Regions from separate parts of the Homo sapiens genome. Here regions 1 and 2 are each linked to region 3. Evidence: promoter capture Hi-C in 16 types of primary human blood cells and fetal thymus (Javierre and others, 2016). All regions are on one chromosome and are shown on one strand. Each heading gives the region's core, a stretch centred on a gene start or on the middle of the fragment in contact. The rest is flanking DNA. Distances are from core to core; before and after follow the strand shown. Region 1 holds the start of LURAP1 (leucine rich adaptor protein 1). Region 2 holds the start of TSPAN1 (tetraspanin 1). Region 3 holds the start of HECTD3 (HECT domain E3 ubiquitin protein ligase 3).

Region 1 (2,752 bases), core at 62-2,561, 1.2 Mb after region 3:
CCTTTCACACCTCTAGGCCCACTCCCAATTGGCAACCACTTTTAGTTAACTCTAAACAATAACGTTATGGGTATGAACACCAAAAGAAAAAAAAAAACTAAAAGTTATTTTTTGCCAATTGGGAGTGGGCCTAGAGGTGTGAAAGGGTAGGGTAGGGGTAACTATCTTCTCATTGTAAATCCTTCTGCAACCATGGGCTGGAATTACTTGAATTAAAAGCCTAAACAAACCAGAGTTTTCATGGCTGTTCATTACCTGTTAAATAAAACCCAAACATCTCAGAACCATTTTCTGTAACCTTGTTACTCAAAGTGTGGTCCCTTATTACTTGAAGTGTGGACCAGCAGCATGGCCATCACCTGGGAGCTTATTAGAAATGCAGGATCTTGGCTGGGCGCAGTGGCTCACACCTGTAATCCCAGCACTTTGGGAGGCCAAGGCAGGCGGATCACTTGAAGTCAGGAGTTCAAGACCAGCCTGGCCAACATGGTGAAACCCTGTCTCTACTAAAAATACAAAAATATTAGCTGGGCATGGTGGCGCATGCCTGTAATCCCAGCTACTCAGGAGGCAGAGGCAGGAGAATTGCTTGAACCCAGGGAGGCAGAGGTTTGTAGTGAGCCAAGATCGCGCCACCACGCTACATCCTGGGCGACAGAGCGAGACTCTGTCTCAAAAAAAAAAAAAAAAAAAAAAAAAAAATGCAGGATCTCAAGCCCCACCCCAGATTTACAAAATCAGAACCTACATTTTAACAAGATCCGCAGATAATTCATACGCACAGTCAAGCTTAAGGAGCATCTTGCTTGTAAGCCCAACGTGGACCTCTTCAGCTTCAGTACTGGTTGCCCTTTTCTACTCCGTTAGCCTGAATTCTAGCCCCTGGGGGGGGGGGGTGGTGTGTGTGTGTGTGTGTGTGTGTGTGTGTGTGTGTGTCTAGCTAAAATCCAGTCATCGTTTTATACCCAATTCCTCTGCTCCAGGAAGACTTCCAAGCCCTCTGCAGCTCTCTGTTACCGCTGTTCCTTAAACTCCCACATCTCTGACTGAAGCTGCTTAGACTTCATTCTGCAAACATGTATTGGGCGCCTGCTGTGTGCCTGGCTGGATTCAGTGCCAGGGTGGGGCGAAGGCGCTGAGGTCTCCGAGTGCTCTTTCAGGTCCAACTCCAGAATCGCCCAGCCCCACGCAATCCAGGGCCAGAGGTTGTGTGCGCAGCACTCGAATACATCCACAGACGGTGCTGCGCGGCTTTTCTGAGTGTTACGGCGCCCTCCTCCCGCCCCCGCGCCGCGCGGGCGGGGACCCACCGGTTTTGCTCCGCTTTAGCAGCGGCGAAGGGAGGACCCCCGGGAGCCGGTCCCCGGCGTCCGGTCGCCCAGCCCTTTTCAGGCTTGGGCCCGCATGGAGGGGACCGTGGAGTCCCAGACGCCTGACCTGCGGGATGTGGAGGGTAAGGTGGGCAGGAAGACCCCTGAAGGGCTGCTCCGCGGGCTGCGAGGCGAGTGTGAGCTGGGAACCTCTGGCGCCCTGCTGCTCCCAGGGGCGTCTAGCACCGGCCACGACTTGGGGGACAAGATCATGGCGCTGAAGATGGAGCTGGTGAGTGCTGAATCCATGGGCCAAGGGGACGAGTCCCTAGTGTAGGGCCGGGAGGGACGAACTCATGCTCCCAGAGTTAAGCTGGAGAGGAGGTAGTTAAAACTCTCCACCTAACTGCTCAGAATCCCTCCCAGATCAATCCGTAAACGCTGGGGTGGAGATGGAGTGACGTCCATTACTTGTCCCCCAAGAGTGAGTGGGGTGTTGATGGTCCTGAGGACTTGGGTTGGGAGCAGTGGGTTTTGGAAGTTATTCCTGCCAAATAATTGGGAGGAGAGAGATGAGGACTGGGAAGTACTGAGAACCCAACGCAGCACAAATTCCCCCCGCCTGTATGGGCCACCTATTCCCCGCCAGTCCCCGTTGTAAGGCAACCGGTTTTTTCTCCTTCTGCTAACCGGGAAAGGGTTTAAGTTCCTGTGAGGCCGCAGTGTTCCGCACAGAAAAGAAGTGGGTAAAGGGGCCTATCTGCTGAAAACTACCTGGACCAGGGGCACTGAAAACCTTCTCCGTTTCCTCTACATCCCCCAGCCCTACTTAAAATAATGGAAAGTTCCTAGACCCATAGCAGGGACAGAGAGTAGCAGCACCACTGGTGCTGATTCCCTCGCCTCAGACTCAGTCTCCTCCCAGCCAGTCTTCCAGGTAAACTGGATATTTGGATCTCATCTGTACATTCTTGGGGAGAAGAGGAAACAGCAACCCTCCCCTTTCTCTATTGCTGCTGGTCTAGATTCAGAGCCAAAAGGGCAGCCGAGGCCCTGGCAGGTTCCCCAGGGCCCTGATTCCGGTGAAGTGGGTGATTTACACCTGCCACTACTTTGCAGCCAGTTCTGGGGAACTGAGGAATTGCCATCGGCTTCCTGGCTCACAACCAGGAGCCCACAGTGAGTACGTCAGCTAAAGTCTTCCTGTGTGCCCAGCCTGTGCCAAGCTGGTCTGTGAAGGAGAAGGGGAAGGAAATCATGGGGGCTCTGAGACCAGCCAGGGCTCCGACGCCTGAGCTGAGAGGCTGGGAAGAGAGTCTGGTGGGTGGAGCAGTCAGGAAAGGCCCCCTGGGAGAAGGACTTGAATGCCAAGTGTGCACTTGGCCTTGAAGGTTGGAGGTGAGTGCCCAATTCTCCAGAGCAAGGCTGTGACTGTACCCACC
Region 2 (2,892 bases), core at 390-2,889, 1.2 Mb after region 3:
AGAGTTGCAGATTGAAAAGCAGAAGCAGAGGCACCTTAAGGGGTGGAGACCATCTAGGTCAGCTCAGCTAACCCAGGCCCTTCCAGCCTGAGAGCCTGGTGTTCTCAGCCACCAGGGAACTCTGGCAGGGTGGGAGAGAGTGGGCTGCACCCGCTCATCCGGGAGCCACCTAAACTGAGGTGGTGGGTGCCCTCTGGCTGCTGCTGCCTCTGGGAGCCTAGATGGGGAGGAGAATTAGGAACCTGAAGGGGGAGGGGCAGTGAAGAAGCCATCATCGCAGATACAGCTAAAAATAGCTGGAAGAGATGATGTCATCTGGTTCCCACAGCTTAGCACCCCCATCATACACACACTCGAGCACAAACACACACTCTCACAGACACAGATACACACAGACACAAGTGTGGGCATGAGTGCATGCACACACACATACTACACACTCATATAGGGGAGGGAGGCTTCTGGGTCCCAGGGCCGCAGGGGCAGGGAAGTCTGGTGAGTGTGTCTGCATGCGTGTATGTCTGTGTGTGCCTGGGTTTGCATGAGTGTGAAGGCATGTGTCTGCATCTGGGTGCTTGTGTGCTTGTGTCTGGGTGCATGCATGTTTCTGTCTGTGTTCATTTAGAGGCATGCGTATGTGTTGTTACATATATCGTGTGGGGATCTATGCATTTGTGTCTGCGTATATCTGCTTATAGTATGTGCTTGCATGCATGTGTGTGGTTGTTGCAGTATGTGTCTATGAGTTCACTTATATTTACATGTCTGCATGTGTTTGTGAACTGTGTCATGTATCTTTATATGTATGGCCCCTCTTGGGCCCTTGAGCATGGCCCAAGCACCTTCTAGCTTTGACTGATGTTCAGCAACCCCCATCCCATAACCTGAGGAGCCCAGCACCGTCTGGGCATGGTGTGTCAGTGAATTCTCTGCCTCAACCCCCCTCAGGGTCCCAGTCTCTGGCAAGAGTTGGGGTAGATAGACATAAGCACAATTCACTTTCCCTTCACAGGCAGCAAAGGACATTAGCCACACTTCCTGAACCCCAGGGGGCCAGGCCACCAAAGGTCTCAGGGTTCACTCCCTTCCCTAGCCCCTTGGGAAGGTAGCCTGGAAATGCAGCCAGATCTCGGACCGGTGCAACACGTATTAGCCCATGCATGATGCAACATATTCGAGACAGAGTCCTACAAAATGTTCCCAGCGACTAAGACACAACCCCACAGAAACCCGGTTACAGCCAGTGACACATGAGCACACACTCAGAAATCCAAATGGAAAATCCCCAGGCCAGAGAGCTTAGCACCCTCCCTACTTTCTGGGCTCAAACTCAGTCTTGCCCCACCCCTAAGCACCCCAGCTCAGCTGCCAGTTCTGGAAAACACTGACCTCAGAGAATGGTTGAAGGGCCGAAGGTAGTATGCCTTTCTCAGAATCTCACCCTTCTCCATGTTCTCCTCCTTTAGGCTGTTCCCCATCCCCCTCCTGACCTTCACTTTTCTTACCAGGGCTGATGTCCTCTCCGGCACACCCATACCCTCACAAACGCTCCTTGACACTCACAGTCAGTCACAGAGGCACATTAAATCACAAAGGCACATTCAGCCACATCTACTGATACTCCTATTCTCCCGGCCTCAGACACACACACCAGCAGCTACACCTACACGCTGACCATCACAGGCACACAGAGGCACATCCACCTCACATCCACCTCATACTTGTGTACTCTCAGGGTTCAGTCTTTCATCCTATCCCTCTCTGATCTGTGCCTCCCAATACCTTCCAAGATGTTTACAGAGACCCTTCTCCCTGTGCAGTTAGGAGTGTAAGGCAAGAGAGCCCCTACTTCATGGGGCAGATCAAGAGCTGAGACCAAAGATGGTCTATGTTGCTGACCTTGTCCTGTCCTCCTGCTGTCTTAAACTATGATCCCTGCTGCGGTCACTGAAGCCTTTCCCTGTAAGTATTCAGCCATAACCCTCCCCTCACGCCCTGCATAGTCAGCTGGTTAACACCTCTGTGTGGAATAAGGCAGTTTGAGCAGAATGACTGTATTTGTTGTTCACCACCCACACGGCCCCTAGGAGATGCAGGTCCAGGGCAAACCAAGCTTCTGGGCTAGCTTCTGGGCACTTCTAGAGGATCAGAAAAATCCCAGGTTGCCTGAGATGTCTGAGAACTGAGGAGAGGAAGGAGAGGGAAGAGTTTGAGGAAGGAAGCAGTTCTGGAAGTTCCCTGCCTCTTGGATTCAGCCCCTCCCCAAACCCTCTGCTTCCAGCCAATCCATCCTCCATTAAGGCTGTCAGCACTTTGGGGTGCCTGCCATCAGGAGTCCCCCATATATGTAGGGGTGCTATTTCACAGAGATCATCCTTTGGCGTGCCTAAACAGAACCAGGTAGGGAAATCTTCACTGGCTCTGGTTTTTTTTTTTTTTTCTTGAGACAGAGTCTAGCTCTGTCACCCAGGCTGGAGTGCAGTGGCGCGATCTTGGCTCACTGCAACCTCTGCCTCCCGGGTTCAAGCAATTCTCCTGCCTCAGCCTCCCAAGTAGCTGGGACTAAAGGCGTGTGCCACCACGCCCGGCTAATTTTTTTTTGTATTTTTAGTAGAGATGGGATTTCACCGTGTTAGCCAGGATGGTCTCGATCTCCTGACCTTGTGATCTGCCCGCCTTGGCCTCCCAAAGTGCCGGGATTACAGGCATGAGCCACCGCACCCAGCCTAGTGGCTCTGTTTTTTAAAACCCCACCCTGGCTCACAGGCCCCCTGGCTAACCTTGAGGTGGGAAGATCCACACTATGGTGGTGTCAGTGTGGGTGTTGTTGATACCCATGGCCCTGGTGGCAGGATTGATGGCTGCACTGCTGGCAGTTCGACCTCGGAGACC
Region 3 (2,934 bases), core at 435-2,934:
GTATCGGCATTGCTGTCTGTCAGGCAGGACACGTTGAACTCCTCCTGGGGAGGGGCAGAGACGTGAAGTCAGCAGTTACCCTCCCTCCCTGCACTGGGCTTGTGCTCTGGGCCAGGAGCACCAGAGAGAAAGCATAGTGAAGTTGGGCTAACAGGCAACTGGTATGGGATAGGGGGCCGCTGGGTATGTAAGGGGTCCTATAGACGTCCAAGATGGGGAGCTGAACTGAGTGTGGCCTGTGGGGACCCTGTTTTAGTCCTGGCCTGCAGGTGGGGGTTCTTTCTGGATCTAGCCTTGAGGGGTGTGACTATATCTTGCCTGGGGTGGGAGGAGCCCCAGCACCCACCGTGTAGGAGGAAACGTCTATGCTCTCCACATACTGCTTCACGCTACCCAGGTTCTCATCCTCCTTGCCCAGGTGGTCATACAAGAAGTGGATCAGGTCCTCGTCGCACTCGTAGGTCCATGTCGGGGGTACATAGCTAAGCAACCCCAAGCCCCTAATTAGACTGGGCCCAGACGCAGAGCTCCTTCCTCCCCACCCCATTCCAGCTCACTCACAGTAGCCTTTGTACAGCTTCTGCGTATGCCTCTGCCGGCTGAGGTCTCGATCCCAGGCGATGTGAGTATGTCAGGTCCACCACCTGTTCCCACCTGTGGGCACAGAGTAGGGAGTGGGATGGGGAGACATCAGCGGTCAGCAAGACACTACCTCCATGCCGTGTAGCCTTCTTCAGGGCTCTATCTCCCAGTCTCCCTCCGAGCCCCCTTCACGTCCCGCCCCTTTCTGCTCTTAACCCTGCCTCCGCTCCAGTATCCCACCCACCCCAGGCTGTGGCTGAAGTGTTCCCAAGCCCTCCTGGCCCGGCCTTCTGACAGCCAGCCCCGCTCCTTCAAGTGCAGTACCTGAGCACCGGCCGATAATCCACGCCAAAGAGCTGCTGCTGCCGCTGGAGGTGGTTGGGAGTGTCGATGGGTACCAGGCGGGCTCCGCCCTCCGCCGGGCGGCACACCAGCAGCCAGCCTTCCTGCAGCCCGCAGTCGCCCAGGTGCTCTGCCAGCTGCTCCTGCCGGGACGCGTAGGATGGGGACAGCCGTCAGGGAACTGCCCAGCCGCCTGTCGTGCCCAGCCCAGGGCAAAGGGCGCCGAACGCAATGCCAACTCAATACAGGGGAGAAAAGGCAAACAGCCAGAGGTTTCTCTGGCCCCAGGGGTCTTTTACCGGGTCCTGGGCAGGGAAGAGCGCACCTTTGTCAGCTTCACCCAGAGCCCGTGGCCATTGCACAGCTCCTCGCCCGTGGTGCGCACGCAGGCGCCGCGCCGGAGCTCAATGCTGTCGCGGGCGGCGCGGAGGGGCCCGGAGCCGGTACCGGGGGCTGGGCCTGCGGCGCCCACACGCAGCCCCAGGCCCTCTGCCTCCCACACCGGCAGAAGCACGCGCGACGGTCCCGCTGGGTCCTTGTAAAGCTTGTAGAGCACCTCTCGCGGCACGAAAGCCAGCGCTGCTGGCAGCGGCCGCCCGGCGCGGAGGCTCCGCGCTGCCTCTGCCAAGAAGCGCACGCGGCCCAGCAGCTGCCGGGGGGACTCCAGCACCGCGCCCGGGCCAGGACCCGCCATGGCGAAGTGGCGGAGGTGAGCACCTAGAGGCGACCCTGCCCGGGGAACAGCTGGCGCGACCGCGGACAGAGCTTCCCACCACGCCCTTCCCCGCCTTTGGCCAGCCTTTGCCGTATGTTCTGGACTAAGCGCACCCCAGCTCTCACTGTATTGGACTGTGTACTCCCACACTCAACCATATTACTTATCTCTGTGCCACCCTAACCCAGCCGACCAAACCCAAGATTGGTGATTGCTACCTGATCAATCTCCCTCTCTCCATTTCCTTGTGACTACCATTTTATCTCTACTGCTACTACCCTCATTCAAGTCACCATTCTAGCTAGCCTGGGTCATTGCCAACAGTCATTTTTCTGGTTCTTCGGCCTGCTGTTTTTCCTCCCACTCCCAGCGAATCTGCTGGACTCCCTATCCTATGGGTGGTGTGATTAAAGTGTTTGAGACAATGGCCCCTTCCCCTGCCACTGACAGGAGTCTTGAGTCATTAGGGTTGATTCTGTTTGTCACTCCTAATCCCAAGGACACTGGAGATCATTATTCATTTTAATGTGATTGCTGATTTCTGTTTCCCCAGTCTTGTAGCTCCTTAAAGGCTGGGGCTGTCTTGAGCAGAGCTAACCTCTGCACCTACTATAGGTCCAGGCTATAGTATGGACCTGGCTGGATAAGACTGTTGGTATCATGAGTGGGACTTGCGCCAAGCCTCCGGATACCCAGACTGTCAGATGAGAACAAATTCCTCATGTCACCGTAAGATACATTTACAGCGGAGTTTTCTTTTGGGCCTTTGTTGTTGCGTCGCTACAGCAAACTTTACGGTGAAAAAAGGTAGGGGTCCTACGGGCAGCAGCCAGGGCAGCCCTGGAGCTGTCGCTGGAGTCCGATCATGTGATCTTCAACATGGCGACGCTCTTGGTTCCCTACAGAAAGGGGCGGAGCCTGGACTGGGGGGCAGGCTCAGATTCAGGTTAAATTGTGGATTGAGCTCGCAGTTACAGACAGCTGACCATGGAAGCGAATGGGTTGGGGTGAGTTCTCCAGAGCACGCGGTGTGGCTAGCCGGGCTTCTAATTTGAGTCTTCCAACTCAGGACTCTATCCCTCTACTCCCCTTTCCCCACCCTGGAGACCTCCCAACCTGAACTCCGTTAGCTGGGATCCTGAATCCTAAAACCATGGATTTTTGAGATGTTCATCCCAGGGCCTTAATTCAAGGGATGCCTCAGGATTTCCAACCAGGATCTCTATTCTGGGACCATCAACTCTGATCCCTCTTTATCCCCCAGCCTGGGTATTTCTCAGCCCCTGAACCAGCCC

The links. Contacts are between HindIII fragments. The CHiCAGO score rates a contact against its expected background, and 5 or more counts as called.
Region 1: a contact is called between the fragment with the promoter of LURAP1 here and the fragment with the promoter of HECTD3 in region 3, in 1 of 17 cell types (M0 macrophages). The highest score is 5.7, in M0 macrophages.
Region 2: a contact is called between the fragment with the promoter of TSPAN1 here and the fragment with the promoter of HECTD3 in region 3, in 4 of 17 cell types (total B cells, neutrophils, non-activated CD4 T cells and 1 more). The highest score is 14.5, in total B cells.

What each region holds. Positions count from the first base shown.
Region 1 is chr1:46,202,023-46,204,774 of GRCh38, forward strand. It overlaps LURAP1 (leucine rich adaptor protein 1), which reads left to right and starts at 1,312. Exons shown (of 2, transcript NM_001013615.3): 1 at 1,312-1,602. The coding sequence starts at 1,405. It also overlaps a transcript of POMGNT1 not described here. RefSeq lists a silencer at 1,233-1,352. The HindIII fragment of the contact is 3,345 bases long and covers 788-2,752 here.
Region 2 is chr1:46,173,448-46,176,339 of GRCh38, forward strand. It overlaps TSPAN1 (tetraspanin 1), which reads left to right and starts at 1,640. Exons shown (of 9, transcript NM_005727.4): 1 at 1,640-1,962. It overlaps P3R3URF-PIK3R3 (P3R3URF-PIK3R3 readthrough), which reads right to left. Exons shown (of 10, transcript NM_001303427.2): 1 at 2,781-2,892. P3R3URF (PIK3R3 upstream open reading frame) reads right to left here. Exons shown (of 2, transcript NM_001328655.2): 1 at 2,781-2,892; 2 at 2,039-2,182. The coding sequence ends at 2,139. It also overlaps a transcript of PIK3R3 not described here. The HindIII fragment of the contact is 4,826 bases long and covers 1-2,111 here.
Region 3 is chr1:45,009,640-45,012,573 of GRCh38, forward strand. It overlaps HECTD3 (HECT domain E3 ubiquitin protein ligase 3), which reads right to left and starts at 1,685. Exons shown (of 21, transcript NM_024602.6): 1 at 1,250-1,685; 2 at 907-1,067; 3 at 562-654; 4 at 347-482; 5 at 1-44. The coding sequence starts at 1,618. It overlaps UROD (uroporphyrinogen decarboxylase), which reads left to right and starts at 2,615. Exons shown (of 10, transcript NM_000374.5): 1 at 2,615-2,646. The coding sequence starts at 2,627. RefSeq lists silencers at 1,352-1,521, 1,602-1,731 and enhancers at 2,492-2,541, 2,582-2,711. The HindIII fragment of the contact is 5,887 bases long and covers 1,467-2,934 here.